7 separate regions of the Homo sapiens genome follow, and all the other regions are linked to region 5. Evidence: promoter capture Hi-C in 16 types of primary human blood cells and fetal thymus (Javierre and others, 2016). All regions are on one chromosome and are shown on one strand. The core of a region is centred on a gene start or on the middle of the fragment in contact, and the rest is flanking DNA. Distances in the headings are between cores, read along the strand shown. Region 1 overlaps ATP6V1E1 (ATPase H+ transporting V1 subunit E1). Region 2 overlaps BCL2L13 (BCL2 like 13). Region 3 overlaps BCL2L13 (BCL2 like 13). Region 4 overlaps BCL2L13 (BCL2 like 13). Region 5 holds the start of PEX26 (peroxisomal biogenesis factor 26). Region 6 overlaps BCL2L13 (BCL2 like 13). Region 7 overlaps ATP6V1E1 (ATPase H+ transporting V1 subunit E1).

Region 1 (3,846 bases), core at 62-2,561, 450 kb after region 5:
AAGTATTGGGATTACAGGTGTCAGCCACTGCACCCGGCCTATTTTTTATTTATGTAAAATTGAAAGAAGGAATCTTGTCTATTTCCTATAATCCTTCATGCTACATGAAAGCTCGATGAGGACAGTGTGTGTTGTTTACTGTATTCTCATAAGTAAATAGATGAAGCACCAAGCCCATAGTAGATGCTTAATAAATCCTGAATTTTCTGACTTCTCCATTGCATGAAAATATTTGTGTATATTTGCTTTTTTCCTGGGGAGTATGGTAATTTATTTCATCAAATTTACAAAGAAACCTGACTCTAAAAACCTTAATTACTGAGCAGGAAGAAGAAACTGTTTTTTTAAAGGTCAAATTTTCTGCCTTAGGGGTGGAGTTAAATGTCCTTAAAGGGTTGACTATATCTCTTCTTGGAACTCTTAAAAGAATATGATCATGTTAACTGTAAATAGGCTTCTGACCTGGGTTAGAATTAGCGCAGTTTGCTCTAGGCTGTGCTGGTCTGGTCAAATCTGGTAGCCAAGGGTGCAGCAGAGTGCTAAAGGCAGATAATCCAGGTCCGAATCAGGGTTCACCTTTAGAGGCCAAACTTGTAGCATTTATAAACACCGGTTTTGATTACTGTATTTAGTTAAATGACTTTTTTTTTTTTTTTGAGACAGAGTCTTGCTCTGTCACCCAGGCGTGATCTTGGCTTGCTGCAACCTCCACCTCCCAGGTTCAAGTGATTCTCCTCCATCAGCCTCCTGAGTAGCTAGGATTGCAGGCACCCGCCACCACGCCTGGCTAATTTTTGTATTTTTAGTAGAGACCAGGTTTCACCATGTTGGTCAGGCTGGTCTTGAACTCCTGACCTCGTGATCCACCCGGATTGGCCTCCCAAAGTGCTGGGATTACAGGCGTGAGCCCGGCTAGTTAAATGACTTAAAATTCCAGATAGAATAAGTTCAGTGAGACTTCAAACTAAACTTGTAGACACCATTACCATGACCCCTCTCCATACTCCCAAATTTGTGGAGCTGATCTTTTAAGCAAGGTCAGTGATTTCCCACACATCTAGGTCTGGATTAGGTACCCCAAGTATTTCAAGGCTCAAGATATTGTAAGTACCATGTTATCTATAACATAGGTTTGATCATCATAACTTTTTGTCTCCTTAAAAGTAGGATTGGAAACACGATGGTGGCCACAGAAGTTGGAATCCACTGAGTGTGTAACAACTCACCTGCCAAAATAAGAAAAAAAAGAAAAGTAGGGTGGCTCCAAGATTTTTGATAAAACAAAAAAACTGTCCCTTCTAAAATCCTCCTATATGTTTTTTGTTTCATTTTGTTTTGTTTTTTTTGAGACGGAGTTTCGCTCTTCTTGCCCAGGCTGGAGTGCAGTGGCACAATCTATGCCTACCACAACCTCCGCCTCCAGGTTCAAGTGATTCTCCTGCCTCAGCCTCCTGAGTAACTGGGATTACAGGCATGCACCACCACGCCTGGCTAATTTTTTGTATTTTTAGTAGAGATGGGGTTTCTCCATCTTGGCCAGGCTGGTCTCAAACTCCCAACCTCAGGAGATCTACCCACCTTGGCCTCCCAGGGTCTTGGGATTACAGGCATGAGCCACCATACCCAGGCAGTAGTGTTTTCTTTTCTTTCTTTTTTTTGTTTCATTATACTTTAAGTTCTGAGATACATGTGCAGAATGTGCACAGGTTTGTTACATAGTGATACGCGTGCCATGGTGGTTTGCTGCACCCATCAACCCATCATCTACATTAGGTATTTCTCCTAATGCTATCCCTCCCCTAGCTCCCCACCCAGTAGTGCTTTCTTAATTCGTTTTGGTACACCTATGTATACTTAAGATTTATGATATCTTGTGTTATATGGAGAAGCTGCTATGGGGATTGTTTACAGATTGTTAAACCCTAAAAAGTACCTGGGATACCTTGTATTCCTTAGAAGTCTTGAAACTCCCAACAGATTTGCATTCATTCACAAATTTTTTTGAGCATCTCCTATGGTGGTGGTTGTTCCATGTTCTGGGTTCACACTGGCATAAAAGACAAGATCCCTGTACTCAGTGGTGCTTACCTTTTAGTGGGATAATTAATAAACAAAATGAATTAATGACCTAAAGATCCTACGTCAATTTTTAGCTTTTTTTTCCTTTTTGGATTTCATCACTCCCTTAGGAAATGAAGCTACCATTGCATCCCACAACCAGTGAGTTTGATGAGCTGTGTCGGTTGGATTTTTACTTGGGTATATTTTATATCTGCCACAAGAGATGATACTTCATTTATGAGTCTAAGTTGGATTATTCCCCAAGCCCCATTCGGAAGCCTTCATTGGACTTTATTCTCCAATTGTAGCCGGTGATCTAGGAACCTTTAACAAGTTCCTAGCCTCATAGTTCAGTTGAGGATAGGGACAAATAAGCAACAATTACAAGTTTAGGTGCCGTGATAGAGGAAGTACAAAGTACTCTAGGTACAGGAAAGATTTCCCTAAGGAGGTGATAGTTATACAAGCTGAGGCCCAAAAAGTTAGAAGGAAGAATGTTCCAAATGGAAGGAACAGCATGTTTGAAATCTTGGAGATGAGAAAGAATGGTGAGCTCAAGGAACTGAAATAAGTTTAGTATGGTAGGAACTAAGAGTCTGAAGATGGTGAGTAGTGAAGGGTTTGTTGTTTCATATGATGCTTGAAAGGTAAGCAGTGGGCTGAGTACGGTGACTCACACCTGAAATCCCAGCACTTCGGGAAGCCAAGGCAGGAGGATCGCTTGAGCCCAGTAGTTCAAGACCAGCCTGGGCAACATGGCAAAACCCCTCTCTACAAAAAATACAAAATTAAGCTGGACGTGGTGACACGCACCTATGGTCCCAGCTACGGGGGGATCGCTTGAGCTGTAGAAGGCGGAGGTCAAAATGAGGCGGGATTGTGCCATTGCACTCTAGCCTGGGAGACAGAGACCCTGTCTCAAAAAAAGACAGATAAGCAGTGATAAGATCCTGTACCTTCTAAAATCTTTATCTTAAGCGGGGGTAGAGTGTTACATGATAAGATAGGCATTTTGAAAGCATCTCTCTGGTGGCAATGTAGAGTCGATTAGAAACAACAAGAATAGCGGCAGGAAGACAAATTTGGAAGCTGTTGTAGTAGTTTAGCTGAGAGGAGATGATGGCAAGGACTATGGTAGTCCCTCCGATGATGGAGCGAGGTGGGCAAGGTAAAGAACTATTTTTTTTTTTGAGACAGAGTCTCGCTCTGTCGCCCAGGCTGGTGTGCAGTGGCGCGATCTCGGCTCACTGCAAGCTTCGCCTCCCGGGTTCACGCCATTCTCCTGCCTCAGCCTCCCAAGTAGCTGGAACTACAGGCGCCCGCCACCACGCCGGCTAATTTTTTGTATTTTTAGTAGAGATGGGGTTTCACCCTGTTAGCCAGGATGGTCTGGATCTCCTGACCTCGTGATCCGCCCGCCTCGGCCTCCCAAAGTTCTGGGATTACAGGCGTGAGCCACCATGCCCGGCCGGTAAAGAACTATTAAGAGAGAATTAATAGAACTTGGTGATTGCTTGGATATAAGGACTGAGGTAGGAGGAATAGTCACAGTTGGGTGTTGGTGCTAATCCCTGAGAGAGAGCTCAAAGTGAGAAGTGGGGAGAGGAGTGGTGAGCAGTTCAGTATTGAATGTGTTGAATTTAAATTACTATGAGTAGGATGTTCAAAAAGAGCTGTCTAGGAGGCAGAGTGGAAGAGTATGGCCCCAAAAGAGTGGAAGAGTATGGCCCCAAAGGAGACTGGAAAGGAGAACAGGAGGAAGTCACGGACGCAAAGGGAAGATTG
Region 2 (4,067 bases), core at 1,240-3,739, 400 kb after region 5:
CACAATCTCGGCTGACTGCAACCTCCGCCCCCCGGGGTTCAAGCAATTCTCCTGCCTCACCCTCCCGAGTAGCTGGAATTACAAGTGCCTGCCAACACGCCCGGCTAATTTTTTGTATTTTTAGTAGAGATGGTGCTTCATCATGTTGGCCAGGCTGATCTCGAACTCCTGACCTCAGGTAATCCGCCCGCCCCAGCCTCCCAAAGTGCTGGGATTACAGGCGTGAGCCACCGTGCCTGGCCCATAAGTCTTAATATAGCCTTGTCTGGGAAACTTGCTTGGCCTTGTGTCAATTTCTATTACACAGGAGCCTAAGAACCTGTGGTTGGTAATAAGGGGAAAAAACGAACAAAGAAAACATTTGTATCCAGAGACTAGAACATAAAGGAGACCAAAACGTTTCTCCTGAATTCAAAGTGGGCAAATTTGGGGGTAAAACAGCACAGTTCCTTTTAAAGCTTTAAAAGCTTATATAAAAAGCTCAAGCTCTCCCTACATTGCAAAAATATTCTTTCTTGAATAATTTTTTTTTCTTCTACTTTCAGGTGATTTCAGTACTACAGAACATTTAAACAAAAAATTTAGGATAAAAAGAGCCAAACCAGCCAGGCACAGTGGCTCACGCCTGTAATCCCAGCACTTCAGGAGGCCAAGGCGGGCGGATCACCTGAGGTCAGGAGTTCAAGACCAGCCTGGCCAACATGGTGAAATCCCGTCTCTACTAAAAATACAAAAATTTGCTAGGCATGGTGGCAGGCGCCTGTAATCACAGCTACTCGGTAGGCTGAGGTGGGAGAATCACTTGAACCCAGGAGTTGGAGGCTGTGGTGAGCAGAGATCGCACCATTGCACTCCAGCCTGGGCCACAAGGGTGAAACTGTCTCAAAAAAAAAAAAAAAAAAAAAAAAGAGCCAAACCAATTGACATATGCAGCAGAATCCACATTCCCAGGACATGGGCCAGATTCACAATCACATCAATAATCCCAGCTTGGTTTTTAGCCAGAAGCATTCAGGGAAGTCAAGATAATTCAGAGTCATCCTAGGAATCTCACTCATTTCTGGAACTTAAATTCAGACTTACCTGAACACCCAGAGGATGCTGAATTGTATACTTAGCAACTAACCTTCTGTTAGAGGAGAGTGGTTTTTCATTTCCCTAAAGACTTGAGATAAGTAACTTGTGGGGACAATGAAGCCCCTACCTGGGTGTGGGGGAAGGGCCCTGCAATCAACTATACTCCACCATGCAAGAATTTCAGCAGAAAAACCAAACAAGCTAACAAAAAGCAGCATGAACTGGGCCACTAAGTTGCAGGTCTACCTACTATTCATTTATCCACTGAAGAAACATTGACTACCTGCTATTTATCAGGTATGTCCTGAAGCATCTACGCAGCACAAAAATGAGTAAGATTTGTCCAGCACATGAAACTATTTATATAGACTGGGGAAGTTCAGGAAGGGCAGGACAACAGCAAGCATTTACAAAGTACCTGTTACTTAACAGGCACGGTAGTAAACATTTCCTATGTGTTATTTCATTTAATTTCCAAGTCAACCTTATGAGGGATGAAATAATAGTTCCATTTGAAGATGAGGAAACTGAAGCTTGGATAGGTTCTACCACTACCATAAAGAAGTTATAATTGGAACTCTGGTGAGTCTGACTACAAAATCGTTAATCCAGGCTGTGCTCTCGTCATCTTCTGGTTGGGTGGCTAGGAATGAAAGATCTCAGAAACATTTCTGACATGATTAAATAGTTAACAGAGAGCAGAAAGGCTGTCTATATCGGTGATACTGTCTTCTGACAGGGACTTTCATGTCCCCTTATTTAATCTTCACTTCAGTTGGGTGTGGTGCTCATGCCTGTAATCTCAGCACTTTGGGAGGCCGAGGCAGAAGGATTGTTTAAGTTTAGGAGTTCAAGAACAGCCTGCGCAACATAGCTAGACCTTGTTTCTACGAAAAATAAAAAAAACTAGCTGAGCACAGTGGCATGTTCCCATCGTCCAAGATACTCGGGAGCCTGATGTGTGAAGATCACTTGAGCCTGGGAGGTCGAGGCTGCTGTGAGCCATGACTGCACCACTGCACTTCAGCACTTCTATATATTTTATGTTTCTAGACAGGGTCTCACCCTGTTGCCCAGGCTGGAGTGCAGTGGCACTATCATGGCTCACAAGAGCCTCAACCTCTTAGGCTCAAGCGATCTTCCCACCTCAGCCTCTCAAGTAGCTGGCACTACAGGTACACACCACCATGCCCAGCTAATTTTTGTGGGGTTTTTTTGTTTTTTTTTTGAGACAGAGTCTCGCTCTGTCGCCAGATCATGCAATGGCGCGATCTCGCCTCACTGCAACCTCTGCCTCCTGGGTTCAAGTGATTCTCCTGCCTCAGCCTCCTGAGTAGCTAGAACTACAGGTGCACACCACCACACCCAGCTAATTTTTGTATTTTTGGTAGAGACAGGGTTTCACCATGTTGGCCAGGATGGTCTCGATCTCCTGACCTCATGATCCACCTGCCTCAGACTCCCAAAGTGCTGGGATTACAGGTGTGAGCCACCGCGCCCAGCTGTGTGGGGTTTTTCTTTTTTTTGGTAGAGACAAAGTTTTGCCTTGTTGGCCAGGCTGGTCTCAAATTCCTGGGCTCAAGCAGGCCGCCCACCTTGGCCTCCCTCACGCTGGGATTACAGGCATGAGCCACCAGGCTCTGCCTATGTTTTCATTTTTTGCAACCAAATTAAAGAATCCCAAATTCTCAGATGGGCTTTGAATTAATTAATTCTATTAAGGTCAAGAAACTTGATTATTCTATCATCCACAGGTATTTAAAATACCTTTAAAAAACAAAAGGTTAAACATTTTTACGTATCACAGATTCTGATTCATTTTCTACTTTTAAAGCTGACAAAAATAACATGGCTTTAAGCGACATAAAACACTTTCCTTATGAGATGAGACTAACCAAAATAAAATTCAAATCCTTTTATTTTTTTATTTTTTTATTTTTTGAGAATAGGGTCTCACTATATTGCCTAGGCAGGTCTCAAACTCCTGGGCTCAAGCCATCCTCCTGCCTCTGCCTCCCTAAGTGCCAGAATCCTTAAAAGTTGAAATGTAACACAAAGGATCTCCTCAATGTCACCAATAGCATATACTTTGCTTAATGACATTTCACTTACTTCTGCCTAAGTAAATAACTTTGATAAACTACATTCATAAAAACTTGAAAATGTTACATAAAACAATCTATTATGCAAAAATTTGAGGCCAATTTATCCTAGAAAGATCCTATGCCAATTTATCCTAATCTTTATAAATTCTCATAAAGCATAAAAGTCTACCTTTACAGATAAGCTTCTACTAAATCTCCATTACTGTTTATAATTATAACAGGTTTTCCCTTTAGAAGTAATTTGTAGTGTTAGATGGCTCTGCAACAGCACTGATTAATATAACTGCACAAGATACAGTGATCTCCAGAATACATCATGACATTATTAAGTGAAATCAAACACAAGCTCAGAAATTAATTCACGGCCCATGCTATTTCTTGCAATAAAATTCTCTCTTTCCCTTCCAGCTTCCTGGAAAACAGCCGTAAAGTGGTTGATAAGCTTTGGAGTCAGGCCTTCTAACTCTTCACTTGGGCAAGGAAAATAATCTTCTTGACCCTCTCCTCTTTATGATTATTTTTTTAATTGAGACAGAGTCTCGCTCTGTCACCCAGGCTGGAGTGCAGTGGTGCAGTCTCGGCTCACTGCAACCTCCACCTCCTGGGTTCAAGCAATTCTCCCACCTCAGCCTCCCAAGTAGCTGGGAGTACAGGCGTGTGCCACCACACCTGCCTATTTTTTTTTGTTTTTAGTAGAGATAGGGTTCTGCCATGTTGGCCAGGCTGGTCTCGAACTCCTGACCTGAAGTGATCCGCCTGCCTCAGCCTCCCGAAGTGCTGGGATTACAGGCGTGAGCCACCGTCTCTCCTCTTATATAAAATGGGAAAATAATACCCACCACAAAGGGTAGTTGTGAAGAGTAATGAGATAAATGCCCAATCGAC
Region 3 (3,947 bases), core at 1,187-3,686, 430 kb after region 5:
AAGAATATTCAATATACTTTCAGACTTGGAAAAGGAAAATCACCTATTATTTTTAGACTACAGACTATAGAAGGTAAGGCTCAGTAAATTTTCAGTCTTCTTTGCAGCAGTGATTCTCAGTGCTGGGACAAGAAGGAAAAATAACGTGCCTCCCACCGCCAATGCCACCAGAATAGGAGCCACAGAAATTTTTATTTACCTTATTTTTAATAAAGGAGACATAGGCTACAAAACATGTTCAAAAATACTGGTATAATCTTAAAAAGAACACATTAGAATCCACTAACATTTAAGGGGTAGTCAAAAGATGAGAAGCTGGAAGAGGAACCCTTTCAGTCCAGATTGAAACAGAAAGGTAGAAAGAAAACCAGGAAAGACTGTAATCACAGAAGTCAGGGAGGCACTTCAATAAGAAGGCAGTGAACAACTGTGTCAAACGTAGTAACATGTCAAGAAGAATGAAAATAAGAAGAGTCAGCCGGGCGCAGTGGCTCATGCCTGTAATCCCAGCACTTTGGGAGGCTGAGACGGGCAGATCACCTGAGGTCAGGAGTTCGAGACCAGCCTGGCCAACATGGTGAAACCCCATCTCTTCAAAACTATGAAAATTAGCTGGGCATGATGGCAGGCGCCTGTAATCCCAGCTACTCAGGAGGCTGAGGCAGGAGAATCGCTCAGAGCAGGGAGGCGGAGGCTGCAGTGGGCCAAGATTACGCATTGCACTCCAACTTGGACGACAGAGCAAAGCTCCATCTCAAAAAAAAAAAAAAAAAAGAAAAGAAAAAAAAGAGGGGAGAATAGATAAAATTAATAACAATCTAAGCTTTTGGAAGTCTCTTCAGCGGCCAGGCACAGTGGCTCACGCCTGTAATCCCAGCACTTTGGGAGGCCGAGGCGGGTGCATCACCTAAGGTCAGGAGTTTAAGACCAGCCTGGCCAACATGGTGAAACCCGGTCTCTACTAAAAATACAAAAATTAGCCAGACATGGTGGCAGGTGCCTGTAATCCCAGCTACTCAGGAGGCTGAGGCAGGAGAATCACTTGAACCCGGGAGGCAGAGGTTGCAGTGAGCCAAGATCGTGCCACTGCCCTACAGCCTGGGCGACAGAGCAAGACTTCGTCTCAAAAAAAAAAGTCTCTTTAGCAACAACCCTCTTTTGCTAGAAAATAAAAAAGTCTCAGTATTTCTTTGGTAGCAGGAAGAAGAAAGTATTTACATTTTGAATAAATGCTTTAAATTAAAAAATTGGCCCGGCGTGATGGCTCACGCCTGTAATCCCAACACTTTGGGAGGCCGAGGCAGGCGGATCACCTGAGGTCAGGAGTTCCAGACCAGCCTGGGCAACCTGGTGAAACCCCGTCCCTACTAAAATACAAAAATTAGCCAGGCATGGTGGCGTGCGCCTATAATACCAGCCACTCCGGAGGCTGAGGCAAGAGAATTGATTGAGCCTGGGAGGCAGAAGTTGCAGTGAGCCGAAATCATACCTGCACTCCAGCCTGCGTGACAGAGCTAGACTCCGTCTCCCAAAAAAAAAAAAAATTGAGCCGGGCACAAGTTCATGCCCATAATCCCAACAATGTGGGGGGCTGAGGCAGGAAGCAAGCTTGACCCCAGGAGATTGAGGCTGCAGTGAGCCTGTGATAATACCACTGCACTCCAGCCTGAGCGACAGGGTAACACCCTGCCTCTAATTAAAAGAAAAAAAAATTGATATTCTCTAATTTGTTGTATTCAAATTTGTTGTATTTATCAAGAATCCACATCACTGAAGTCGTTTGCCAACCCAAAAGCCAGAGACAAACTACAAATCACTAAGTTTCCAAATTTGATTTTTAGCCTAATGTTCCTCAAATTTTCTTATAAAACCTGATTGTGTAATTATAAATGCAATCTTAATCATGAATTTCATCATCTTCCACCTTTAACTCTAGTATATATGCTAAAGCCCATATATCTATATATTTGGTGAAGGATTATATTTATTCATTTAAATCTAGTATACAGTTTTCAGACTTTAAATGCATATTTGTTATTCTGGTTATAAACATAACAGACCTACAGTATAAAACAGCCATGCAACTTTTTTTTTTAATTTTTAAATTTTTTGTAGCGATGGAGTCTCACTATGTTGCCCCAGCTGGTGTCAAACTCCAGGCCCCAAGTGATCCTCCAACCTTGGCGTCCCAAATTGCTGGGATTACAAGCGTGAGCCACCATATCTGGCCCCAACTTCTAATTTAGCTTGAGCTTCCAGTTGTGTAGCAATGCAGCAGCTCCTTCAGGACTATGGTTAAATGGGGAAAAGTCAGATCCCAAGAACACTATTATGTAACTAGCACATTTATATTAAATTATAGGACAAAGGTATTGATAACAGGCCAAGTGTAAACTCCACAGCACTACTACAGGGTTATGTCTCTAAGCACAAAATGGGAGAGGACACCCACTTCCTTTGCAACATTCTGCAGTGTCTAATAAGTATATTGCACAATGAACTTTTGCATTTCTTTTTTTTTTTTTGAGACAGAGTCTCTGTCGCCAGGAGTGCAGTGGCATGACCTCGGCTCACTGCAACCTTCGCCTCCTGGGTTCAAGCGATTCTCCTACCTCAGCCTCCCAAGCAGCTCGGACTACAGGGGTGTGCCACCAAGCCCGGATAATTTTTTGTATTTTTTAGTAGAGACGGGGGTTTCACCGTGTTAGCCAGGATGGTCTCGATCTCCTTATCTCCCGATCCGCCCACCTTGGCCTCCCAAAGTGCTAGGATTACAGGCGTGAGCCACTGCGCCCGGAGGGACTTTGGCATTTCTAATAAACATCATATATAAATTACATCTTCGTGACATCTGTTTCTAAAGCATTTTTCTATGTGTTGTCACAGTAATCCTCTATACTTGAATGAAAATTTTATAGATGGAGAAACAAGAACAATTTATTTGCCTAAAATCATACAGCTAGGTAACAGCACAACCACTTAATTGGGTACACCGTCTTCACTTCCTCTTAGACCTTAACTGTATTTATTCAACACATATTTACTATATGCCAGGTAATGTACTAGGTGAGAGGAATGCAGAGGTGAAAACACTAACACTAGTAATACGGAAGGATACGGTAGCAAAACAAGGTGGTTTTTGTAGTATCACAGATCCAGAGTACTGAAAGAAGCAAATTTGTCAGTTTTGAGAATGGACGGGGGGAAAAAAAAGCTAGATTGGATGAAAGGTAATTATGACGCGGGACCATCACCTAAAGCTTTTGTAGAAGCACTTTGGGAGGCCAAGGCAGGCGGATCACGAGGTCAGGAGTTCGAGACCAGTCTGGCCAACACAGTGAAACCCCGTCTCCACTAAAAATACAAAAATTAGGCCAGGTGCAGTGGCTCATGCCTGTAACCCCAGAACTTTGGGAGGCCAAGGCGAGCGGATCACAAGGTCAGGAGATCGAAACCAGCCTGGCTAACACGGTGAAACCCCGTCTCTACTAGAAATACAAAAAAATTAGCCAGGCGTGGTGGCAGGTGCCTGTAGTCCCAGCTACTTGGGAGGCTGAGACAGGAGAATGGTGTGAACCCGGGAGGCGGAGCTTGCAGTTAGCCAAGATTGTGCCACTGCATTCCAGCCTGGGTGACAGAGCAAGACTCCATCCCAAAAAGAAAAAGAAAAAAAAAAAAAAAAAAAAAAAATATATATATATATATATATATATGTAGTTTATACACACACACACACACACACACACACACACACACAAATTAGCTGGGCGTGGTGGCAGGCACCTGTAATCCCATCTACTCTGGAGGCTGAGGCAGGAGAATCACTTGAACCTGGGAGGCAGAGGCTGCAGTGAGCTGAGATTGCACAACTGCACTCCAGCCTAGGCGACAGAGCTAGACTCTATCTCAAAAAAAAAAAAAAAAAAAAAGACAGATATTTCAAGATT
Region 4 (4,044 bases), core at 887-3,386, 350 kb after region 5:
ACCCGCCTTGGCCTCCCAAAAGTGCTGGGATTACAGGCGTGAGCCACTGTGCCCGGCCCAAAATCCGAAACTTTTTGAGTGCTGAAATGACATCACAAGTGGAAAATTCCACACTTGACCTCATGTGGTGGGTTGCAGGCAAAACACAGTCAAAAATCTGCTTCATGCACACAAAATATTATATATATTTATGTTATAAATATTGTATATTTGTAAATTAATATATTAATATTATATAAAATTACCTTCACGCTATATGTATAAGGTGCATACAAAAAGAAGTAAATGTCATGTTTGGGCTTTCCCATCCCCAAGACATCTCATCACATACACACAAACATTCCAAAATCAAAAAAAAAAAAATTAAAATCCAAAACACTTCTGATCCCAAGCACTTTGGATAAGGGATACTCACCCTGTATGTTCAATGCAGTAATTAATGCAAAACAGCAGAGAAAACAAAGGCAAGACCTTGTGCTCAAGGAATTTATCACTTAGTAGGGTATACAAATAATGCTATGTCATAGTCCAAGTGCCATTAAGAGTTCATATGGCAGTGTTGCTTTCCTTAGAAGAAGAAGAAAAAAAGTTCAGATGGGAAAAAGACCTCTTTGGGTAGAGGTCAGAGAAAGCAGGGAGATCACAGAAAGCCTCACGGAGGGACTAGCATTTCTATCAGACATCTGAAGAATGGGTAAGATTTTGGCAGGCGAAGGGTACACAGAAGACACAATGCAGGCAAAAGCACAGAGACAGAAAAAAAAGAAGATAAGGACAGAGCCCTGTTTAATTAATGCAGAGTGCCCATGAAGAATAGAAGGTCAGTGAGGACAGGACCATGGAGGAACCTGAATGACAGCTAAGAAATATGGACTTTATCCAACAGGCGATGGTTTGTCACTGACATCTCTGAGGTACAAAATTATAATCAGAGCTTTGCTTTAAAATTCCTCTGATGGCAGAGACAGAATGGAGAAATGCTGCAGACACGGAGACTCTTGCTTCTTTTGTCAGGAAGTCTGAGTGAAAGCAATAAAGCCCTACAGCACAGGCCTTGTGTCCATGTCTATTAATAACAGGCCACCGTGTGCCTACTGCTTATCAGGGTTGTGTCAGGCACAAGGGCTACGAGAAAGAATGGGTCTATTCTTACAGAATTTACTAGGCAGCTGTGAAGCCTGACATATGAATAACTAACTTCAATATGATACAGAAAGCTTTATGACAGGTGTATGCACAAGGGGCTAGGCCAACCCAGAGGGTAAGGCGCAATAAAAGGACAGGAAGAGAACCAATGGAATGGAATGTCACAGAGATGTACAGAAATTGTCATACAAAGGCTAGACAACACTCGTAAAAGCTACAGGGAATCTGAATGGAATATGTAAAGCAAATTAATTTCTACTTCATTTTATGATTATGGTTGCTATTCAACTGAAGTAGGATAATTTCATTCTTCAACCAAAACCAAAAACTTTCTACATACATCAAGGATCTAACATAAATCAAAAGTCTATCAGCCCCATAAAAAAGGAAATAAGAAATACAAATAAATCACACGACCATGATGTCGGCATCATACTGCACCACTTTCTACCTCGACCCTTGCTCCAGCCACTTCAGAGGCCCTGGTAAGCATCAAGGATGTTCTATGAGTATGGAATAATCAGGGGGTTAAAATAATACAGTATGACCACAAAATTCACAGTCAAAAACAACTGGCTTGTATCCCAGCTCCAACTGTGTACCAGCTGTGCGAATCTGGATACCTTGCTTAAACTTTTAGACTTCAATTTCTTCACAAATAAAATGGGGATGACTGACTAGATAAGATTGTTTTTGTTGTATTTTTAGAGTTGGGGTCTCGCTCTGTCACACAGGCTGAAGTGCAGTGGCAGGATCACAGCTCACTGCAGCCTCAACCTTCTGGTCCCAAGGGATCCTCTAGCCTCAGCCTCCTGAGTAGCTGGGAATAACAGCATGGGCCACTGCACTCAGCTAAGTTTTTTTATTTTTTGTAGAGACGGGTCTCTCTATGTTGCCCAGGCTGGTCTCAAACTCCTGGCTTCAAGCAATTCTCCCACCTCAGTGTCCCAAAGTGCTGAGATTATAGGTGTGAGCCACCACACCTGGACTTGAGTTCATTTTTAAAATGAGGTATAGTTTGTTTTTTGTTTTTTTTTGTTTTTTTTTTGAGACGGAGTCTCACTCTGTCATCAGGCTGGAGTGCAGTGGTGCAATCTTGGCTCACTGCAACCTCCGTCTCCCAGGTTCAAGTGATTCTCCTGCCTCAGCCTCCCGAGTAGCTGGAACTACAGGTGCACGCCACCATGCCCAGCTAATACTTGTATTTTTAGTAGAGACGGGGTTTCACCATGTTGGCCAGGATGGTCTCAATCTCTTGACCTCGTGATCCACCTACCTCGGCCTCCCAAAGTGCTGGGATTACAGGCGTGAGACACCGCGCCCGGCCCGAGGTATAGTATTTATAGTGCTTAGATTAGTACTTTGTACATAGGAAGTAATCAGTAAGTTATGCTATTTCATAACTTGCTATTGTTTGTGTTGTCATTTTAATTGTTGTTTTTGGTGGTATGGTGGTAGGACAAAGAGCTATTCTAAAATACCAACTGGATGGGACAATAAGGAAGTGAAAACAAATGGAAACAATACCCTCCCTTGGCTAAAGAAGGTAATTTACAAACTTTTCCTTCCTCCTCCATCTCTTCTAAGCAGAGATAACACAAAACTGTAAAGTAAAATCTGTCTTTAAAAATTACAGTACTGCAGTATACAATTAGGAAAATTGGAGGGCCCATTGGCTTGGAAGAGAGGGCTTCTAGGCCTCCCAGCTTTTGAGGATGACAGCTTGCCCCAGCCTCAGGGTAAGGACCACTGGAATGGTCCAGAAGAGGATGCATTCAGGAGAGGGAGAAAGAGAGAGGGAGAGAGGGAGAGGGACAGATAGAGAGAGACACAGGGAGGGTTTGGTTCAGCTAAGTAAGCAAAGACATGGAGATCCTAACCGGAAGCTGTAATCAGGTCTCAAGCTTACACATTTTGCAAGGATTTTCATTAGCATCATTTTTAATACAGAAGGATTTCAAACAGTCTTCAATACCCTCAGGAAAGTTTAAAAATATATATGGTTCATCCAAACTATTTAACTACTATTAAAAAAGAAGTACATTTTTAAGTCCAATGTGGAAGGAAGCCCATATTGTACAATAACTCTACATAAAAAACTACAAAGTATTATTGAAAGAAATTAAAGATATCCTAAAGGGATATATATATCATGCTCATAGATTGGAAAACTATTGTAAAGATGTCAGCTATTCCCAGATTAACCCTTTGGTTCAATACAATCTCCAATATAAAATCCTACCAGGTTTTTTCTTATGGAAATTGACAACTAATTAATTCTAAAATCTATATAGCAATTTAAAAAGGCCAAGGAATTTAAGCTGATCTTGAAAAACAACAGTTTGAGAGCTGACACTACCAGGTATCTACTCAACCCATTACAAAGGCACACTGATTGTATAAGCATGGTAAGAGCTTAAAAATAGGCAATTAGACCTGGCTGGGCACAGTGGTTCATACCTGTAATCCCAGCACTTTGGGAAGCTGAGGCAGGAGGATCATTTGAGGCCAGGAGTTCAAGACAAGCTTGAGCAACATAGTAAGACATCATCTCTACATACACACACACACACACACACACACACACACACACACACACACCCCTGTAGTCTCATCTACTCAACTCAGGAGGCTGAAATGGGATGATCCCTTGAGCCCAGGAGTTTGAGTCTGCACTGAGCTATGATCGTGCCACTGTAGTCCAGCCTGGATGACAGAGCAAGATCTTGTCTCAATTCCAAAAAAAACAGAGGCAATTAGACCAATTAAATAAAATAGAATCCAGAACTAGATATATAAGGTCACATGATTTGTGGCAAAGATAACTCTGTGGGAAAATGGATGGTATGATCCTATTTACTAAATGCACATATATACATATCTACTTATTTGCATATA
Region 5 (3,885 bases), core at 781-3,280:
CTTACCACAGCTCCAGGACTTTGGGGGGTAGCTTTTCAGGGACCTGGTAATACTGAAGGACCCAGGAGAGGACTTCTTGCCACCGATCCATTTCTGCCAGGGCCTGGATCCCCACAACACACAGGGAGCACTTCACCTCCAATGAGCTGTCAGCAGAAAAACCAATTTCAGTTAGAAGTGGTTCCCCTCCATTTCCATTCCCACCTCCACCTTGGGACTGTTCCTCTCCAGCTCCCAACTCAGCAGCCATCATCTCTCTCATCCCTGTTAGTATTTAGATGGGCTTCACAATTGGTCTCATGGGCTGCCCTTTCCCCCAGGAACTAAAAGTTCCTGTAACCCTCTTTCAAGAGGCAAGTCAGCTGTTGCTCAACGTTCATCTTTGTATCCAGGTGAAATCAGATTTAAATGAAGAGGAAGGGTAATCCTGAGGGGGAAATAACACACAGCACCGGTGTGTGGCTGAAAAGAGAGCTGGAACTAAGAGTTTGCTCTGTGAACAAATGGGCTTGGAGCAAGGTTTCTGGCTGAGTGGAGGTATAGACTCCATAGCTGGCTAAAAGGCACCACCTAGTAAGGTTCCTCCAGACACCCAGAAGCAAAGCCTTCTGCATTCACTGAAATGAGCTCCCACCCAGTCCCCTAAAACACAGCCAGGGCTCTCCAGATCATCCTTCTTTGTGGTCAACTTTAGCTATTCTACCTACCACCTCCCTAGCGTGGCCTAACCCAAGTTTACAATGCAAAGAAATGACTCCCTCACCTGCCAGACGAGGCTGGTGGCATTAGAAAGAGCAATGCAAGCCCAAGGTTTTTTTCTCCGGATTCTTTTCTTTTTCTTCTTTTTGGTAGAGAAGAGGGCTCATTATGTTACCCAGGCTGGTCTCGAACTCCTGGGCTCAAGCAATCCTCCTGCCTCGGCCTCCCAAAGTGCTGGGATTACAGGCGTAAGCCCCAGCTCCCGGCCCTGAATTAATTCTTTAATCCAGTCCTCTAATTGGACCAGAACGCTGCTCCTGCCATGACCCCCATTCCCCATCATCAGCCAAGGTCAGGAATAAACAACCTTGGGCGGGGCGGGGAGGGCGGAGGTACCTGGGAGAGGACTTTTACCACCTGCTTACTGACAGAACTTAGCACTTAATACACATTCAGCCTTCCCATCATGTCATTGTACCTTGGAACAAGGAGCAAATAATTGGCTGTGGGATCCCCACTAAGTTTTTGTTACACGACTTCCCTTCTCTGTAGAATGGGCACACGATGAGCGACCACCCTCTCGGAGACAAACCACTGATGAAAGCGAGGTGTAAAGCTCCTTGTGGGCAATCTGGGAAGGACAGAACTCCTGAGACCTTGAGCCCCACCACAAGAGCGCCCGGAAATCGGTTCATTTCCGAGCCCAGCACGTACGTGCCCGCGGGTTCCTCTGCCACGGCGTGGTTGGCCAGACTCTGCCAGGCCCGCTCGCAGGTCTCCAGCGCCGCCCGGAAGTCCAGGTGCACCACCAGGAGGTCGGCCGCCTCCTCCAGAAGGTCCACGGCCGGCGCCCGGGCCGGGACCGCGCGCACCGGCTCGCTGCTGCGCAGGGGTCCCCCGAGCCCCCTGAGGGGGGCTGCAGAGGTCGAAGAATCGCTCTTCATAACGAGTCCGGGTCCAAGGCCCAGGTCCTCAGACGTCGGAGTGACCGCCTCCCCAGAGGCTCCGGGATATCCCGAGTTGGCCTGGGCGAAGAGGGAGAGTCCTCATCTCTTTGCCCACACCCCTTCCCGAGGTCGATTCCCCGAGAAGGAAAAGGAAGGGGCCTATCTGAGGCAAAAGCTGGGCTCGCCTGGAGGCTGGGGAAGCAGTTTACACGTCAGATTTGCAGGATTCTTGCATCCCTGGAATACCTGGCCCTAGCTTCTCCGGCCCCGCGACACGTGCAGGAACTGCCTCAGCTCCGGGCTCCTGGTTACGATCAAAGACTCACCTCGCCTCCCGGCAGCGGGCGCGGACATCTTTGCGCTCGCCCAGCCCCGCAGCCGCGCGGCGTCCCGGCGGCGCGGAGTACTCTAGGAGTTGTAGTTCCTCAGCTCTCGGCCCATCGCCTTCTGTAATGGAAGTAGGAGGCAGAGCGCGGACTACAACCCCCAGCACGCCGCGCCCCGGAAGCCGCCCCTGTGCCGTGAGAAAACAAACTGGTGCTACAGCTTCGGGGTGCGGAAGTCAAAACGAAGCAAAACCGAAGCTGTCTTGTGAAATGGAGGGGTCCTCACTAACCAGTTCCAGCGGAGGCTAACGGAAGAAGTGCCAGCAATGGATGTGCAGCTACATGCACGCTTTTAATTCAGAGCTTCTGCGACGGTGGCGATCAGGGGATCTGTAATGTAATGTAATGTCAAGGCTGACGCAGAGCTGATCAAACATTTTGGCAACCTTAGTCTTGAATTGATTCACACTTTCTCCGCGTTGCCTCCGGAGTTTGCTGTAGGGTAATGAATATTGCCTGGTGAGGATGAGGGACTTAGGGTGGAAACCTTCACAAGGACCACTGAGAATATGTTGGTCCCAAGGGCAATGTTCCAAAATGAATAGTGACCCCACCGAGGCGGGGTTGGGGGCGCTGAGCATAAGGGCCTCATTTTTCTCACTGCTCTCTGCCCCATCCTGAATTTGCTGTTAAAAAACAACGTTAAATGCAGATACCAATTCCACTTCCCCACTGTTGTCACTTCCGATCTGTCTTTATATTTCTCCTTATCATTTATCACCATCTACATACCAATGTCTATATTTTACTTATTTTTATTGTCTATTTCCTTCCACTATGATATAAACTCACAAAGGCAGACGTTTTTGTCTCTTTTGTTCACTGTGGGAACCTCAATGCCTTGAACAGTGCCTGTCATCTATAGGTAGTCAAAAAGTATTTGTGGAATAAATGAAGTCCTGGTTTCACTTTTATCTGGTTACAGGGTCCAGACTTCTCTTTCCTCGGAGTCTGGTGGACTTGGTTCTGCCTCAGCTTCCCATGCAGACTTTTCTGCAAGAGAACGGAAATCCCAGAAGATGGATGTGTGCATGTCTGGTGACAAGGGCAGGGGATGTATGATGTGAGCAGGTGCCTGTTTAATCTAATTTCTAGGAGAGCAAAGATTCTAGGGAAGCTTTGGAGTGAATTCAAAGGGTAGAGAACTGGGGAGAAACTAAAGCCAAGAGGATCTAGTACAAATGTGGGAAGCTTGGCAAAGCCCGGGTGAAACAGAATATAATAATAAGTGTGATTTGTGGATCTGTTTAAAATTATTATTATAGTTACAATTTACCAAATACTCTGTTCCCAGTACTTTACTATAAAGTGCATTATGTACGGTATGGTTTTGTTTTTCACAATGTCCTTATTTTACATTGTGTAACTTGCTCATGGAATGACTGTGTATCCCCTGAATAGCAAACATACTTAGTTCTGTCCCTGCAGAGCAGAGTAGAGCTCAATACACATCTTTGAACCAAAAGAGCCTCGGTTTGACTGAGATTTTGTCGCTTACTAGTTGTGTGACCTCGGCAATTTATTTAAATAAGCTCTGATTTCCTCACCTGTAAAATTGGGATAACAGTTTGTCCTTAGCTCCCAATGGCTGAGGGAAGAATTAAGTAATATTGCGCATAAAGCGCCATGCGCATTAAGCACTGAAAATGTGAGCCAGGCCTGGGAAGACGAACATGCTCAGAAGCGGCCAGCTCTAAGCGGCTGCTGCCTGGAAAAGTCCCTTTCCTAACAAATTTCTTGCTATTCCAAATTTGTCCAGGAGATGGAGGCACAGTCTTAACAGAAGCAGCCTTGCTAAAAGTAAATTTGCCTATTTAGTAGTGAGACAGCCAGAATGAGGTCAAGATATTTAA
Region 6 (3,815 bases), core at 591-3,090, 370 kb after region 5:
TTTGTTTTGTTTTTGAGATGGAGTCTCACTCTGTCGCCCAGGCTGGAGTGCAGTGGCGCAGTCTTGGCTCACTGCAACCTCTGCCTCCTGGGTTCACGCCATTCTCCTGCCTCAGCCTCCCGAGTAGCTGGGACTACAGGTGCCTGCCACCACGCCCAGCTAATTTTTTGTATTTTTTAGTAGAGACGGGGTTTCACCGTGTTAGTCAGGATGGTCTCGATCTCCTGACCTTGTGAGTCACCCACCTCGGCCTCCCAAAGTGCTGGTATTACAGGCGTTAGCCACCATGCTCGGCCGAGCCTCTCTTAATAATTAATGTCATAATGAAGAGCAGGCTTTCACTAAAAGAAAAAGAGCTGTTTTGGATAATATATTACTTACAACTTATCATATTAGAAGAATAATATCTACAAGTAGCCTCGGAACCATTCTAACAATCTAAATAGTTTTTAATACAAAATATTTGTGTTGTTGAGAGTATCTGTCTCTTTGGCTTCACTGACATAAAATGCAAAGGAGTAATTTCGAGGGCTCAAAAATATAAAACTCATGGGATAAACCATGAGTTTAAATATGCACAAAGAAGCAGAGAACTGCGTCTTTTTTGTTTTTGTTTTTAAATAAATGAAGCCAAAGGGTTTGAGTAACTTGCCCAAGGTCCCTTAGCTTGCTATGACAAATTGGATAGCAATAATAGGTAACCCTTATATAATTCTTATCATGTGCCCTTCTAAAGTCTTCACTTCATCTATTGAAACCTCACAACAATGCTATGAGAGGATTATTATTACTTCCATTTCACAGACATGGATACCAAAACAAGTAAAGAAGATAAGTAGTTTTCCCAAAGTAATAAAGCTGGGATTCAAGCCCAGGCAGTTTGCCTCCAGGGTCTGTATTTTTACCAACTATGCTGTCCTACCTCTTAGATGAAGTCCCTGATTGCTTTCTGGTGCTTTTCTGTCTGTAATATAGTACCTTTTGAGTTAATGGCCAGAAGTATTCATAGATAGAACATGTTATACTTGGTGTTTTTTTTCAAGCAAACACACAGATACATGCATTAAACTCTTCAATTAAAAAGGGAAGTAGAGAAGAAACCTAAGTAGATAAAAGGAATATAACAAAATAAATGTAAAATAAAATACAAATATAACTTTGCTTTGGTGGTAGGAACTAAGTAAAAAACTAAGTAAAGGAACGTATCAAAATAAATGTAAAATAAAATACAAACATAACTTTACTTTGGTGGTAGACCTAAGTAAAAATCAGGTTGACAATTGCTCAGAGACCTATTACAAAAATTGGCTGCATCATGATGTCTATATTGATTGTATTTTTTTGTTTCACTTTTTTTTTGGTGGGGGCAGGGGGTCACATCAGTTACAAATTATTCTGCCCCCTCAAGCAATATTTTACCTTCTGAGACACAGCTGCTGCTGAGCTGAGCTCCTATGAACTTAACTTTTCCATCTGAAGAAGCTTTGGCAAAATTCCAAAGCCCATCTACGTTGGTAAATTTTCTAAGGACTCATTTCCCTTAAGATTTATGCCAACAAACCTCTATCATTACTTCTCAGACTTTATATATATATCTGTCAAGAAAAAGAGCTGTTTTGGATAATACGTTAGTTACAACTTACATTAGAATAACATCTACAAGTAGTCTTAGAACGATTCTGACAATCTAAATCATTCTTCATATAAAATATTTGTATTGTTGGGAGTATCCATCTCTTTGGCTCCACTGACACAAAACACACAAAGGCTCCACTGACATTTTGTAACTTTGAGGGCTCAAAAATATAAAACTAGCCGGGATCAACCAGCTAGTTTTATATTTCTGAGGCCTCGAAGTCGCAAAATGGAAACAGATCACTGCTTTGGACCCTTATAACCAAATGCGCCTCTCAGATCATTATTAACCTAAAATAAGAAAATGGAGAGTGCTGAAGAAATTACAGAGAAGTAATTTTCCACCCAACTTGATGAGGAAGATCCACAAAAAACACATTTCAGAGTACAACACAGTAAACATCCACACCCACATATACAGCAGGCAGATTTTCCCAAAACAGTACTTACTCTTACTAAATTGATTTTAGCTGCAACCCACTTCATTAATTTCAGATCATCCCTGTGTGTCACCTCCCACAATATGAAAACTATTCTAACAAATTATTAACCTAAAAGCTTCCAAGAGATAGTCTTTAAATATCCTAGATTAAACAAACAAAAACCTATTCTAAAATCAGAAGCTTCATGTCAAGAGAAAATGACAAAGATTAATTTTATTCAAAATACTTAAATATTACAATAGACAGATGACATTCCCTCCAGTAATCTTTTATGGAATCTAAAAGTAAATCTTTCACAAGAAGTATTTATCATGTGACGACGGAGAAAGTAAAATACAAGCCTTACCACAGTGGACTTGCTCTGCCCTTTCCAGGAGACAGACAGACTTCTAACGTAGCAACACAAGCCCAGGAAATGAAAAGAGAATGAGGAGGGAGGGAGCAAGGATGACTCAGGGAGAATCACAGCACATGAACCAGTCTGTGCCCTCACCGGGCTGCAGGGCAAATAAAAGTCAAAACTGAAACTAAGAGGAAATGGTGATCAGACTTAAGGAGAGGGAAAAAAACCACACTCTTCAGAGACGCATGTGAAAACCTGGCATTTGTAAAAGTGTGACATTTTCACAAAACACTTTCACATCATTATTTTTGTGAGACAGAGAAGCTATTCTTCCCTTTTTGTAGTTGAAACTGAGGTTCAGAGAAGTTAAATGAATCCTTCCAAAACACAGGGCTAGTATTTGGCAGAGCTGGGGCAAGAAACAAATCTTGTGATTTCTAATCCTTTTCTCAGTTCATCATTCGCCGGGTAAAAAGGCAGAGTGAAAAAAAAAAAAAAACAAGGTAGAAAGAGAAAACAGGCTGGGCAAGGTGGCGCATGCCTGTAATCCCAGCACTTTGGGAGGCCAAGCGGGGAGGATTGCTTGAGGCCAGGAGTTTGAGACCAGCTTGGGCAACATAGTGAAACCTCTCTCTGCAAAAAATAAGCCAAGTGTGGTAGTGCATGCACACCTGTGGTCCCAGCTACTAGGGAGGCTGAGGTGGGAGGATCACTTGAGCCCAGGAAGTTGAGGCTGCAAATGAGCCATGATCATGCCACTGTACTCCAGCCAGGGCAACAAAGCAAGACCCTGTTTCTAAGTCCTAGCCATTTCTGTTAATAATTCAGAAAACAAAATATTATTTTTCTCCTTCAAATCTATATGTCCAAAGCCTGCCTGTTCCTAACTGACTATGTGCTATATCACTCCATTCATCCAACAGATTATGGCTGCTGGCACCACCTCCTCTGCTGCAGGTTTTCAAAAGTAGCTGCACCTTGAGAGGTAGGCAGTTTGTTTCACTTGATGTTGTGTTCAAGTGACTAATGACAAATACATTCCCCGTGGAAATCATACCACAGGCTTTATATAACAGACATGCGATATCATGTGGTCAAATGATTCTCTTCTGGAAGGGTTTTAAGAGCTGTCAATGTAATGTTCAGCACACAGTATCTTAAGGAGATTCATGTTGACAGCTTATGTCACAGGATACATTTTCACCAACTGGCATTAAAAAAAAAGCAATATCGGCCGGGCGCGGTGGCTCACGCCTGCAATCCCAGCACTTTGGGAGGCTGAGGCGGGTGGATCACGAGGTCAGGAGATCGAGACCATCCTGGCTAACACAGTGAAAACCCATCTCTACTAAAAATACAAAAAATTAGCCGGGTGTGGTGGCAGCCATCTGTAG
Region 7 (3,843 bases), core at 810-3,309, 480 kb after region 5:
AGGCCTTTTTTAAATGGTATTTTCACCATTTAAACGCACTCTTAGACACAAGGCTAGAGCTGTGGTGTATTCTACTTGCAGCCGTTCCTGTTGTTCTCGCAGTGCTCTCTTGCTCTCCCTTGTTGGCTGGCTAAATATACTCTAAAAGTCTAGTTTGGCCAGGTGCGGTGGCTCACGCCTGTAATCCCAACACTTTGGGAGGCTGAGGCAGGTGGATCACAAGGTCAAGAGATCGAGACCATCCTTACCAACATGGCCTAGGGAGCTAGACTCCCTATCATACCAGTCCACCCTCTGCTCATAGTCCAGTCCTGTCTCTACTAAAAATACAAAAATTAGCTGAGCGTGGTGGCGCACGCCTGTAGTCCCAGCTACCCAGGAGGCTGAGGCAGGAGAATTGCTTGAATCCAGGAGGTGGAGGTTGTAGCGAGCCAAGAACACGCCACTCACTGGACTCCAGTATGGCGACAGAGCAAGACTGCATCTCAGAAAAAAAAAAGTCTGGTTTATGGTCACTGCTTTCCTTCTGCGGGGAGGTGGCCCCCAGAATGAAAGCTAGGACCAGATCTCTGTATTGGATGCTGAGGTAGATACTCCCTTCTTCTAAGTAATAGTTATCAAAACAAGAATTGTGTATGCCTGGTAGTTAGGTTCCTTAGAGATAGAATTGCAAGTATGAGTGGTATTTTTATGACTGTGAGGAAATGACAGAACATTTCTGGGATCAGTGTTCCTAACAAGCTTTGTGTAGCTGGGGTAGGCAGTAGAAACTCCTGACAAGGGGAGAGCCAGTGTCATTTTCTCGATTTCACTGGCCTGTCTGAGGCCACCTAGCCACACTACTGACTAACATTGAAGAAAGTACCTTGGACACTTTTTTTTTTTTTTTAAGACAGGCAGTCTCACTCTGTCACCCAGGCTGGAGTACAGTGGCATGATCTTGGCTCACTGCAACCTCTGCCTCCCAGGTTCAAGCGATTTTCCTGCCTTAGCCTCCTGAGTAGCTGGGACTACAGGCGCCTGCCACCACGCCCAGCTAATTTTTTTGTATTTTTAGTAGAGATGGGGTTTCACTGTGTTAGCCAGGATGGTCTCGATCTCCTGACCTCGTGATCTGCCCGCTCGGCCTCCCAAAGTGCTGGGATTACAGGCGTGAGCCACCATGCCTGGTGCCTTGGACACATTTTGAAGTTAGCTGATTATCACACTTAGGAATGTAAGACCTAGATTTGAGTCCTATCTTGGCCTTTTGCTACTATGGGACCTGGAGACTGAATTCATCATATGTAAAATAGGATCATTGCTTTTTGCTTTTTTGTTTCATGCAGTGAAGAAAAAAAGATGAGATAGTACATGTGAAAATGCTCTGTAAATGGAAAAAGTATATAAACTCATAAGATATGCTGTCAGAGTTGGGTTAGATTCCTGATTCTGCCACTTACTACCTGGGTAATCTTGGACTCGTTTATTCAGTTTCATTGAGTGGTGTCGTCCATTTAGTGTTGCTATAACAGAATACCCGAGGCTGGGTAATTCATGGAGAAAAGAGGTTTATTTGGTTCATGATTCTCATGGCTGGAAAGTTCAAGATTGGACAGCTGCATCTGGTGAGGGCCTCAGGCTGCTTCCACTCATGGCAGAAGGTGGAAGGGGAGTGGGTGTGTGCATAGAGACCACATGGCGAGAGAGGAGGCCAGAGAGCCTAGGGAACCAGACTCCCTATCATACCAGCCCACCCTCTGCTCACAGTCGAGTCCTGCCGGAGCTAGAATCCAGGCCCTCGCCACAGTTCATTGCCTCGGGATCTGCCCTTGAGCCCTGAACACCTCCTACTATGCTCCACCTCCCAACACTGCCACATTGAGAATCAAATTTCACCATTAGTTTCTGAGGGAACAGACTCAAACCATAGTAGTGAGCCCTGATTCCCTTATCTGTAAATTGACGTATTAGCACTAACCTCATAGCATTTTTTATCTTATTTATTTATTTATTTATTTTTTGAGACAGAGTCTCACTCTCACCCAGGCTGGAGTGCAGTGGCACGACCTCGGCTCACTGCAAGCTCCACCTCCCAGGTTCACACCATTCTCCTGCCTTAGCCTCCCGATTAGCTGGGACTACAGGCACCCGCCACCATGCCTCGCTAATTTTTTTTGTATTTTTAGTAGAGACGGGGTTTCACCTTGTTAGCCAGGATTGTCTCAATCTCCTGATGTCGTGATCTGCCCACCTCGGCCTCTCAAAGAGCTGGGATTACAGGCGTGAGCCACCGCACCCAGCCTCTTTTTTTGTTGTTGTTGTTGTATTTTGAGTAAGGGTCTCTTTCTGTCACCCAAGCTGGAGTGCAGTGGTGTGATCTCGGCTTGCTGCAACCTCTGCCTCCTGGGTTCAAGCAATTCTCCTGCCTCAGTCTCTCAAGTAGCTGGGACTACAGGCACGCCCCACCATGCCCAGCTAATTTTTGTATTTTTAGTGGAGACAGGCTTTCGCCATGTTGGCCAGGCTGGCCTCAAACTTGAGTTTGGGAGCACCTCGGCCTCCCAAAGTGCTGGGATTACAGGGGTGAGCTACCACGCCCGGCCAGCAGTGGCATCTTTTATCAGACACACATGCAGTCGTGATAGGGCCTCATCAGTAATGAGCAGGATTGGGCTTAAGAAAACATTCAGATGAGGATTGAGTGATTTGCAAACTGAGATGAAATCCTCTCTTTTTCATTTTGTTGGGGAGGGCTGGCTGTGATAATTAAAACAGGTTTTGTAACATAAAATCAAATTGACACAGGCTGGGCGCGGTGACTCACTCCTGTAATCCCAACACTTGTGGAGGCAGAGGTGGGCGGATCACCTGAGGTCAGGAGTTCAAGACCAGCCTGGCCAACATGGTGAAACCCCGTCTCTACAACAATACAAAAATTAGCCAGGCGTGATGGCAGGTGCCTGTAATCCCAGCTACTGGGGAGGCTGACGCAGGAGAATTGCTTGAACTCGGGAGGCAGAGGTTGCAGTGAGCCAAGATCGCACCATTGCACTCCTGCCTGGGCAACAGAGCGAGTCTCAAAAAAAACAAAACAAATTGACACATAGTGTCACTTGGTAAATGACAGTTATTGAGATGAATACAGTCAGTTCTCTGTATCTTTGGGGTCCACACCTGTGAATTCAACCAACTTTTTCTTTTCACTCCCTAAACACTACGGTATAACAACCATTTACATCGTATTAGCTATTTTAAGTGCTGTAGACATGATTTGCAATATAGGGGAGGATGTGTGATGGTTGTATGCAAATACTACGCTGTTTCATATAATGGACATCTAGGCGGGGACTGGGGTTTCCTGAAACCAACTGTGCGTTACATCTTCAGAAGCTTTTTCAGTTCCTTTCAAGCCTGTTGCTTAGGTTGCGCAGTCTACACACCAAGACAAGGGCATTCCTCTGCGGGAGTAAAGGGTACCATGTATCTTTCTCAAGTCTTTGAAAATGATTATTTCCTGTGCTTTTTTTTTTGCAGAGCTGGTGGAGTTGAGATCTATAATGGAGATCGTAAAATAAAGGTTTCCAACACCCTGGAAAGCCGGCTGGATCTCATAGCCCAGCAGGTGAGTGTGGGGGTACTTCTTGGTAGTTGGTCTGCTGTTACTTTGAAGTGGGACAGAGAACACGTGTCCATTCACTGGTATTTGGGATTTGTTGCTGTCTTTCCAGTTTTGGACATTTTCTCAAAAAGAATGAGAATTGGGCATGTAGTAGCATTTGCTGAGGTGGTAACATTTACATGAGGGTGAATTTGGGGTCAGAACAAGTGTTTTGTTGACCTAGGATTCGAATATGTACATTT

The links. Contacts are between HindIII fragments. The CHiCAGO score rates a contact against its expected background, and 5 or more counts as called.
Region 1: a contact is called between a fragment that was not itself captured here and the fragment with the promoter of PEX26 in region 5, in 2 of 17 cell types (fetal thymus and total CD8 T cells). The highest score is 6.5, in fetal thymus.
Region 2: a fragment that was not itself captured here is called in contact with the fragment with the promoter of PEX26 in region 5 in 2 of 17 cell types (erythroblasts and megakaryocytes); the score reaches 5.8 in erythroblasts.
Region 3: a fragment that was not itself captured here is called in contact with the fragment with the promoter of PEX26 in region 5 in 1 of 17 cell types (erythroblasts); the score reaches 5.2 in erythroblasts.
Region 4: a fragment that was not itself captured here is called in contact with the fragment with the promoter of PEX26 in region 5 in 6 of 17 cell types (megakaryocytes, total CD8 T cells, non-activated CD4 T cells and 3 more); the score reaches 7.2 in megakaryocytes.
Region 6: a fragment that was not itself captured here is called in contact with the fragment with the promoter of PEX26 in region 5 in 7 of 17 cell types (erythroblasts, total B cells, megakaryocytes and 4 more); the score reaches 6.7 in erythroblasts.
Region 7: a contact is called between a fragment that was not itself captured here and the fragment with the promoter of PEX26 in region 5, in 1 of 17 cell types (total B cells). The highest score is 6.6, in total B cells.

The regions. Positions count from the first base shown.
Region 1 is chr22:17,620,467-17,624,312 of GRCh38, reverse strand. The region is part of intron 1 of ATP6V1E1 (ATPase H+ transporting V1 subunit E1); the gene reads left to right. Among named protein-coding and RNA genes, the nearest start is that of ATP6V1E1, 6.4 kb to the left of the region's middle. The HindIII fragment of the contact is 4,013 bases long and covers 1-3,317 here.
Region 2 is chr22:17,676,106-17,680,172 of GRCh38, reverse strand. The region is part of intron 2 of BCL2L13 (BCL2 like 13); the gene reads right to left. Among named protein-coding and RNA genes, the nearest start is that of BCL2L13, 39 kb to the right of the region's middle. The HindIII fragment of the contact is 1,754 bases long and covers 1,613-3,366 here.
Region 3 is chr22:17,646,699-17,650,645 of GRCh38, reverse strand. All of the region lies in intron 1 of BCL2L13 (BCL2 like 13), which reads right to left. Among named protein-coding and RNA genes, the nearest start is that of BCL2L13, 9.9 kb to the right of the region's middle. The HindIII fragment of the contact is 1,652 bases long and covers 1,611-3,262 here.
Region 4 is chr22:17,722,082-17,726,125 of GRCh38, reverse strand. All of the region lies in intron 6 of BCL2L13 (BCL2 like 13), which reads right to left. Among named protein-coding and RNA genes, the nearest start is that of MIR3198-1, 40 kb to the left of the region's middle. The HindIII fragment of the contact is 1,833 bases long and covers 1,220-3,052 here.
Region 5 is chr22:18,076,135-18,080,019 of GRCh38, reverse strand. PEX26 (peroxisomal biogenesis factor 26) reads right to left here and starts at 2,030. Exons shown (of 5, transcript NM_001127649.3): 1 at 1,414-2,030; 2 at 6-146. The coding sequence starts at 1,643. It overlaps LOC105372853 (a long non-coding RNA gene), which reads right to left. Exons shown (of 6, transcript XR_001755424.2): 6 at 2,124-2,362. RefSeq lists enhancers at 1,207-1,256, 1,737-1,966, 2,297-2,356 and a silencer at 1,617-1,666. The HindIII fragment of the contact is 13,258 bases long and covers 1-3,151 here.
Region 6 is chr22:17,705,435-17,709,249 of GRCh38, reverse strand. The region is part of intron 6 of BCL2L13 (BCL2 like 13); the gene reads right to left. Among named protein-coding and RNA genes, the nearest start is that of MIR3198-1, 57 kb to the left of the region's middle. RefSeq lists enhancers at 2,818-2,867, 2,888-2,937. The HindIII fragment of the contact is 711 bases long and covers 1,485-2,195 here.
Region 7 is chr22:17,594,290-17,598,132 of GRCh38, reverse strand. It overlaps ATP6V1E1 (ATPase H+ transporting V1 subunit E1), which reads left to right. Exons shown (of 9, transcript NM_001696.4): 8 at 3,517-3,604. Among named protein-coding and RNA genes, the nearest start is that of ATP6V1E1, 33 kb to the left of the region's middle. The HindIII fragment of the contact is 2,631 bases long and covers 744-3,374 here.